Linked DNA regions of Homo sapiens: all the other regions are linked to region 1. Evidence: promoter capture Hi-C in human tissues and cell types (Jung and others, 2019). All regions are on one chromosome and are shown on one strand. The core of a region is centred on a gene start or on the middle of the fragment in contact, and the rest is flanking DNA. Distances in the headings are between cores, read along the strand shown.

Evidence for each region. The method cuts DNA at HindIII sites, captures the fragments that hold promoters and counts their contacts. A contact is called where the count stands out against the background at its distance.
Region 2: a contact is called between a fragment that was not itself captured here and the fragment with the promoter of WNK1 in region 1, in 1 of the 25 tissues and cell types used here (dorsolateral prefrontal cortex).
Region 3: a contact is called between a fragment that was not itself captured here and the fragment with the promoter of WNK1 in region 1, in 1 of the 25 tissues and cell types used here (mesenchymal stem cells).

Annotation. Positions count from the first base shown.
Region 1 is chr12:751,189-753,992 of GRCh38, reverse strand. It overlaps WNK1 (WNK lysine deficient protein kinase 1), which reads right to left and starts at 1,414. Exons shown (of 28, transcript NM_018979.4): 1 at 1-1,414. The coding sequence starts at 427. RefSeq lists enhancers at 1-682, 683-1,401, 2,159-2,208, 2,259-2,358 and silencers at 519-898, 909-1,288, 1,369-1,518. The HindIII fragment of the contact is 16,449 bases long and covers 1-2,804 here.
Region 2 is chr12:341,910-344,713 of GRCh38, reverse strand. All of the region lies in intron 10 of KDM5A (lysine demethylase 5A), which reads left to right. Among named protein-coding and RNA genes, the nearest start is that of KDM5A, 46 kb to the left of the region's middle. The HindIII fragment of the contact is 4,192 bases long and covers 1-2,804 here.
Region 3 is chr12:1,113,695-1,116,498 of GRCh38, reverse strand. It overlaps ERC1 (ELKS/RAB6-interacting/CAST family member 1), which reads right to left. Exons shown (of 19, transcript NM_178040.4): 7 at 466-633. LOC124902857 (a long non-coding RNA gene) reads left to right here. Exons shown (of 3, transcript XR_007063157.1): 3 at 1,000-1,085. Among named protein-coding and RNA genes, the nearest start is that of ERC1, 120 kb to the right of the region's middle. RefSeq lists an enhancer at 1-1,099. The HindIII fragment of the contact is 4,498 bases long and covers 1-2,804 here.

The DNA of each region.
Region 1 (2,804 bases), core at 165-2,664:
GGGCGGCAGCGGCTGGAGGCTGCTGGGCTACCTGGGAAGTGGCGGTGGCGGTCACGGTCTCTTCCCGGTGGGGCTCCGGTGGAGCACTCTGCGGGACAGCCGCGGGGATGCTGGGCTGGGGCAGGGAAAGAGGAAGGCCGGGAAGCTCCAGTGCAGTGGCATTGGAGTCACAGATGACGCTCCGGCGGAAGAAGCGGTGCTCAGTGGTGGTAGTGGTCGCGGCCGCCCCACGGCTGTCCTTGTCCATAGTGTGGCGGCGGCGCCTGTACTCCTCGGTCCTGCCGGTCACAGCGTCGGCGGCCGCGGCTCCCAGTTTCTCCCCCACGGAGGAATCGGAGCTGGAGCCATTCTTGGGGGCAGGAGCCGGCGGCGAGAGGAACAGGGAACCGGGAGTGCTGCTCTGCTTCTCTGCGGCGCCGCCAGACATGGTCGGTTCGCTGGAGAGAGGCGAGCGGGCTCGGATTCGTGAACGAAAAGGGCGTGAAGGGCCGAGCCGCCCGCGCAGAGGTCTGCAGGGAACCGCGGCCGGGCGGGTTCGCGCCGACCCGGACGACGCCTCACTCAGCACCGACAAGCCGCAACGAGGGACAGGCGGACCGCTGGGCCCAGCTGCGGCGGGGGCTGGCACCGAGGCTGCTGCGGCTCACGAGGAGGGCTCGAAGGCGGGCGATTCGGGAGCTGAGCCACGGGGGTTAGCGCCGCACGGTCCGCATCCATCCTGCGGCGAGCGGCGGCCGGGCGGGCGGTGGCAGCAGAGGCGCCGCAGTCATGAGGGGAGGGCCAGGGGCCGGCACCGAGTCGAGGCGGATGCGGCGGACGCGGCTCCCACTGCCGCCGCTCGCCGAGCTGGGCGGGCTAGGCCCAGAGGGCGGCGGCACCGCGAGCACGGGACCAGGTCCGACGCCCGGGCGGTGGCGGCCCCGGGGCAGAGGAGTGGGAGGGGCCGAGGCGGGCGAGGGAAGGCCGCGGCCCGGCTCCCGGTCACTCGGGCGGCCGCCTCCTCCCACACGCGCCCCCAGCGATGGGGACCGGCCTCACAGGTCGCCCATCGCCCAGAGGCGAAGGGCCGGAGCCTCGGAGCCTCGGCGCCTGAGGAGCGGGCCCCCCCTTCCCCGAGGCCTCCCCGCCCGCCCCAGGCCTGGCAAACCCGTCTCCTCCCGGGCCGGTGCCGGGGGCTGACGGAGGAGGGAACGGCGGGGAGGGGAGGGCCGCTCACCGCGGGGCCCGAGCTCCGCTGCTTCTCTGAGGCAAGAGGAGAGGAGACCTAGAGGACTGGGTGAGGGGGAACAGGGAGAGAAAAGAGCAGCCACCCCCACCAGGCGCCTTCTGTCACCGAAGATGGGGGTGCGGAGTGGCCGAGAGAGGAGCCGCGTCCACCCGGGAAACTCTCCGCGCTAAATGGCGCCGGGAGTCTGAAGCCTCCACACAGCCCGCTCGGATCCCGCCCCCCGCCGCCCGGAGCAGCCCCACCCCCCAACTCGCTCCGGGGCTTTTGCGCAGGCGTGCTAGCCCCGAGGCACCCTGGGACTTATAGTTTACGGGTTGGCGGGGATGAACGGGACCTAGAAGAAAAGTGCCTACGACTTCCGTGATGCCTTGCGGTTGCTGTAGCCTAATGCCTCGTGGGAGTTGTAGTTTTCTTTGGAAACCGTCCCTTCTGAAAGGCTGATGGGAGCGTCATCACGGGTCGCTCAACCCCATCCCGAAGTCCGCGCGAGCTTAGGAAAATCATTATTTAGGGATTAATTGTGGAAGAAGGAAAGGAAGGAAAAAAAAAAAAAAAAGAAGAGGAACGAGCGGGCGGGGGGTGGGGGGGGGGATGGAAAGACTCCCATCATGCTCTGCTAAGCTAGAGAGCTCTTAGGGTTGCCATGCAATGAAAAATGATCTGTTGTTCATCTTTAATGGAGAGAGCCTCAGTAGTGTTGAGTGACTGCAGGGCTGTGAGGGTGGAAGGGAAGGGCAAAGCAGGATAACCGGAGCCTGAGCTCTGAGTCGGAGGAGGGGAAAAGAAACTTTGTGAAGATTGTGCATGAAATTAATATTGATTAAACGGATTGGAGGAGGAGACACGGAGGATTACCTTCCATCCTCCTCCCCTCATCAATTAAGGCCACATTCTCAGCTCCCGGCCGAGACGGATATTCTGGCTCTCAAAAAAGGGCTGCCTTACTGAAATCGGGGATCCTAGTGAACTCTATCTTTGCTTTGTCTGAAAAATAATAAAAGGGGGGTTGGGGGAGCGGTGGATTCAAGAAAAGATAAGGTCTACGGATCTATGGGTCTTTGACCACACTTGGGGGGCTGGGCTGACTTCTGCCTTTGTAGTTGGTTGAAACTTATTTTCCACCTTTCTTCTGCTGGTGGCTTCGTGAAACAACACCCCCTCTTTCTCTAGAGCTCCTGAATGTCCACATGCAATGTCTACAAAGGCTCTGGGCCCGGGAAATGTGGATCCATGCGGCTTGCCGCCATGGAATGTTTTTCTTGAAAGCATCCTTGTCTGCCTGGACCCCTGTGCTCTTCGCAACTACTCAAGATGTGGAGGGGACGAGCACCAGGGGGCACCAGACCGAGTAGGAAGCCGGACTCGGGAGCAGACTGCAGTTTAAAAGCCTCAGTCCAACCGGTGGAGAGCGGGAAGCGCTGAAAACGTACGCAACCGCATCAGAGCGTCCGGACGCGGCCGCCTCTCTTCAGCGCCCGCTGCGGAACAAGCTCGAAAGCGCGCGTCGGGGCCGAGGACCACGCTGCGAGCGAGCAGCTAGCAAGGAACTCGGCAGGAGGTTCCTTAGCACAGTTAT
Region 2 (2,804 bases), core at 221-2,720, 410 kb after region 1:
ATTTGCTTGTCTGTAAAGGATTTTATTTCTCCTTCACTTATGAGGCTTAGTTTGGCTGGCTATGAAATTCTGAGTTGAAAATTCTTTTCTTTAAGAATGTTGAATATTGGCCCCCACTCTCTTCTGGCTTGTAGGGTTTCTGCCGAGAGATCCGCTGTTAGTCTGATGGGCTTCCCTTTGTGGGTAACTTGACCTTTCTCTCTGGCTGCCCTTAACACTTTTTCCTTCATTTCAGCGTTGGTGAATCTGACAATTATGTGTCTTGGGTTTGCTCTTCTCAAGGAGTATTTTTGTGGTGTTCTCTGTATTTCCTGAATTTGAATGTTGGCCTGCCTTGCTAGGTTGGGGAAGTTCTCCTGGATAATATCCTGAAGAGTGTTTTCCAACTGGGTTTCATCCTCCCCATCACTTTAAGGTACACCAATCAAATGTAGATTTGGTCTTTTCACATAGTCCCATATTTATTGGAGGCTTTGTTTGTTTCTTCTTACTCTTTTTTCTCTAACCTTGTCCTCTCACTTTATTTCATTAATTTGATCTTCAATCACTGATACCCTTTCTTCCACTTGATCAAATTGGCTATTGAAGCTTGTGCATGTGTAATGAAGTTCTCGTCCCATGGTTTTCAGCTCCATCAGGTCATTTAAGGTCTTCTCTACACTGTTTATTCTAGTTAGCGATTTGTCTAATCTTTTTTCAAGGTTTTTAGCTTCCTTGCGATGGGTTTGAACATCCTCCTTTAGCTCGGAGAAGTTTGTTTTTACTGACCTTCTGAACCCTACTTCTGTCAACTCATCAGTCATTCTCCATCCAGCTTTGTTCCATTGCTGGCAAGGAGCTGCCATCCTTTGGAGGAGAAGAGGCACTCTGATTTTTAGAATTTTCAGCTTTTCTGCTCTGGTTTCTCCCCATCTTTGTGGTTTTATCTACCTTTGGTCTTTGATGTTGGTGATCTACAGATGGGGTTTTGGTATAGATGACCTTTTTGTTGATGTTGATACTATTCCTTTCTGTTTGTTAGTTTTCCTTCTAACAGTCAGGACCCTCAGCTGCAGATCTGTTGGAGTTTGTTGGAGGTCCATTCCAGACCCTGTTTGCCTGGGTATCACCAGTGGAGGCTGCAGAACAGCAAATATTGCTGCTTGATGCTTCCTGTGGAAGCTTCGTCCCAGAGTGGCAGCTGTCTATATGAAGTGTCTGTTGGCCCCTACTAGGGGTGTCTCCCAGTTAGGCTACATGAGGGTCAGGGACCTACTCGAGGAGGCAGTCTGTCCATTCTCAGAGGTGAAATGCCGTGCTCTCTTCAGAGCTGTCAGACAGGGATGTTTAAGTCTGCAGAAGTTGTCTGCTGCCTTTTGTTCAGCCATGCCCTGCCCAGAGAGGTGGAGTCTAGAGGCAGTAGGCCTTGTTGAGCTGCCGTGGGCTCCACCCAGTTTGAGCTTCCAGGGTGCTTTTTCTACCTACTCAAGCCTCAGCAATGGTGGACGCCCCTCCCCCAGCCAGGCTGCTGCCTCAGCAGATTGATCTCAGACTGCTGCGCTAGCAGTGAGCAAGGCTCTGTGGGTGTGGGACCTGCGGAGCCAGGCATGGGAGAGAATCACCTTGTCTGCCAGTTGCTAAGACCTTGGGAAAATTGCAGTATTTGGGCGGGAGTGCCTCGTTTTTCCAGGTAGTCTGTCATGGCTTCCCTTGGCTAGGAAAGGGAAATCCTCTGACCCCTTGTTCTTCCAGGGTGAGGTGATGCACGCCCTGCTTCAGCTAGCCCTCTGTGGGCTGCACCCACTGTCCAAGCAGTCCCAGTGAATGATCCAGGTATCTCAGTTGGAAATGCAGAAATCACCCGTCTTCTGCGTTGAGCACGCTGGAAGCTGTAGGCCGGAGCTGTTCCTATTTGGCCATCTTGGAACGCCCCTCCCCAGGTTTTTTTTTTTTTTTTTTTAAATCACATTTTAGGCCAGGCACGGTGGCCCATGCCTGTAATTCGAGCCCTTTGGGAGGCCGAGGCAGGTGAATCACTTGAGGTCAGTAGTTAGAGACCAGGCTGGCCAACATGGTGAAACCCTGTCTCTACTAAAAAAATACAAAAATTAGCTGGGCGTGGTGGCGCTTGCCTGTAATCCCAGCTACTCTGGAGGCTGAGGCAGGAGAATCACTTGAACGTGGGAGGCGGAGGTTGCAGTGAGCCGAGATCATGCCACTGCACTCCAGCCTGGGCGACAGAGCAAGACTCTGTCTCCAAGAGGAAAAAAAAAACACATTTTATTGGTAGGTCCAGAAATAAGTTTCCTTCAACACCTGAGTGGGTAGATTGTCAAATATGTGTTTAAAGTGTAACATATACATACAGTTCTATCACGTAGGAGATGACCTGTATTTGTAAAGCTGAATTGAGATGGTAATTCATTTCTTTTCTCTTTACTTTGATTCTTGACACTTTTTCTTTCCCCCTATAATTGGCAATAATTTATCTCCTGTTAAAAGAGTTGCACATGATAAAGTTGCATAGTACAGAGGATATATAAATAAAAGTATAGCCCCTGTAGCTTTATTATGGTTACTGTTTGCTTGGTGTATCTTTTTCCATTCTTTTATTTTGAAGCTGTTTGTGTCTCAGAATCTGAAGTGTGTCTCTTGTAGATAGCATATAATTGGATCTTGCTTTTTTTCCTAAGCTGACAGTTGCTTTTTGATTGTTTAGTCTGTTTACGTTTAATGTAATTATTGCTATGGTTGATTTATGTCTCCCATTTTGCTGTTTTCTGTGTCCCATGTCTTTTTTTCCCCCCATTTCTCTCTCTCTCTTT
Region 3 (2,804 bases), core at 176-2,675, 360 kb before region 1:
TTAGACTATCTAGAACTTTAACAGATTCCAGTTTCCTATATACAGTTATTCATAATATCACAACTTAAAGACACTTAAATGTACTCCAAACACAGTGTAACCAAGCTCATTGTCATTCATGACTAGAAAATTCACCAGGGGTTGAACTGAAGCTTCTAAATCAATGATTTCTCTTTTACAATTATCCTTTTATTTTTAATACTGTCAGAGTATACTTTGAAGTACAGACTTGGCAAAAGTTTAAAGAATTAAAAACATAAACTGCACCTGTTTTAACTTGTTAGATCTAAGAACAACTGAAATAAGATGGTTACATTTTAGCACAGTGACTGATCACGCTGCTGAAGAATTAATCATAACATTACTCATATTTCCCAATTCTAAACATAACAAAAACAGCACAGGTAACGCTTATGAAAAGGTGCCAAGAAACCAACTCCCCACAAATCCCAGAATTGTTTCTACCTCAGTCTGCAGGATGGCAGCCCTCTGCTCCTTAGCAGTCAAGGACTCCTTCAACACTTCAATGTGCTGTTTACTATCTGAGAACTGGTTTGTGAGTGTTTCTAGCTTTGTCTGCAGGGCGAGTAGTTCTGTGTCCTTTCTGGACAGCTCCTGTTTCACCTGGCCAATCTAGAAAAGAAGTAAAACACTTTAAGGAAAAAAGAAATAAAACAAACACCTCTTATCTGTATCTTTCACAGATCTGAGTCACAAAATATGAAACTAAATGCAGCACGAACTGTGTGATAGGTCATATTCATCTTTTTGCATGACATAACCTTGGATCTCCCCAACCCTGAGCCAAAAAAAACCACTAAACTTATTCAACCAATAGGGAAATGTCCAGTTTTCATTTATTGTGTCTTCTAAATATTCTTTGAAACCTCTTAGAAAGGGAATGGAGGGAAAGGAAATTCCAATTCAATTAGATGACTATGAGACAGCAGTAAGCAACTGAACACCACTGTACTGATGAAATGGTTTTCATTTTTCTAGGTGAGACCTCTTCAGAACATGATGGATCAAATGCAGGATGAGTGCAGATATAACAAAAAAGGTTTTAGAAACCTCCTAGTACTATTTAAAATTCAAAATCTGCTGCTGTTGTGCTAATTTTTCACTGTTATCTTTTTCATTCTCAAAAGTTTGCATAAAATTCTTATCTTAAAAAGCCACTTTTAATGTTATACATAACATGGTTTTGTAAAATCCTATAATTTGATGTTATGTGTATTGATTAATTTCTCTCTTAACATTGAAAGTATTTTCTTTCTAACACCTTCTTTACATTCCTGTTTTCTAAGAATTTTAAAAATAGTTTTTTACCCTAAATGGAAGCCATGTAAACAGAAATTACATCTCCTTTTAAATTATGTCTACCACCTAACAAGGAACTAAAAAAGATACTAATTATTGGAAGTATACATTTGACAAGTCAGTAATTTCGGTGTCACTGATGAAACAAAAAGTTATCTTTTCATTTTCAAAAACTTGAATGTATCTAAAGTATTGTAATTGTAATAATCTTAGGTATAAGGGATAAAGCTTTTGAGAACAATTTCCCATGAAGAAATAAATTTCACATTAATTAAAATTAGACCTTTGAGGAACACCAAAAATAAATTTCCAATTTAGCCTTCTGTTTCAAAAAAGATTAAGTATTTTTCTCATATGCATAAAATCTCTTTTTAGAGATATAGTTATTCATTCATTCAACAAATATTTCTGTATGCTTATTGTATACAAAGTACCTGAGGATACTAAAAACATCAGTGGAAGATAATTTTAAACGGTGGCTATATTCATCCTGCAAAATAGTATGTACCCAAGAGTTAGCACACACTGTAACAACGTGGAGTCTTTTATGATATCCCTTCACCAATAAAAACAACCCATTAACACTATTCCATTCCCTAACACACTGATTGTAACAAAAACACATTTGTTGTATGAATGAATATTTTGGGGGATGTTCAAAGTGTTACCATTTTCTCAGCTAAAGAACTATGACTAAGATTATTCAAATTTCCAGCTACCTCCAATCACGTGGTCAAAAATAAATATAAAAATCTGTTTCGTCATCATCTGCATTATTAAGTAAGCTTCAAATAATGCTATATTGACCTTAAAGACTAAGAAAGAAAAGAAAATATTTTAAATGAAAAGCAGGGTTTAGGCCGGGTGCAGTGGCTCACGCCTGTAATCATTGCACTTTGGAAGGCCGAGGCGGGTGGATCACAAGGTCAGGAGATCAAGACCATCCTGGCCAACATAGTGAAACCCATCTCTACTAAAAATACAAAAATCAGCTGGGCATGGTGGCGCATGCCTGTAATCCCAGCTACTCAGGAGGCTGAGGCAGGAGAATCGCTTGAACCAGGGAGTCAGAGGTTGCAGTGAGCCGAGATCTCGCCACTGCACTCCAGCCTGGCGACAGAGAAAGACTCTGTCTCAAAAAAATAAAGAAAAAGAAAAAAAGAAAAGAAAAGCAGAGTTTAGAAGCACAAATTTTCCTTAAAGACTGAGAAGGGAAGACATTATAAAGGGGAAGCAAATATAATACAAAGCTTAGGAGCACAAGGCTTTGCAGACATTCACCTATCAGAACTAAGCTAGCTATGTGTCCCTGAATAATTACTTTCCTAATCAGTTTCCTAATTAGTAATAAGGAGAAATTATACGAATGCCACTGTACTGTTTATGGATTCAGTAAAATAAAGCGTGAAATGTGCTTAGCCTGTTGTCTGACTCAATGCAGAAATTACTAATAGTAGCTATTTTAAAAAGGAAGTTATTGATCA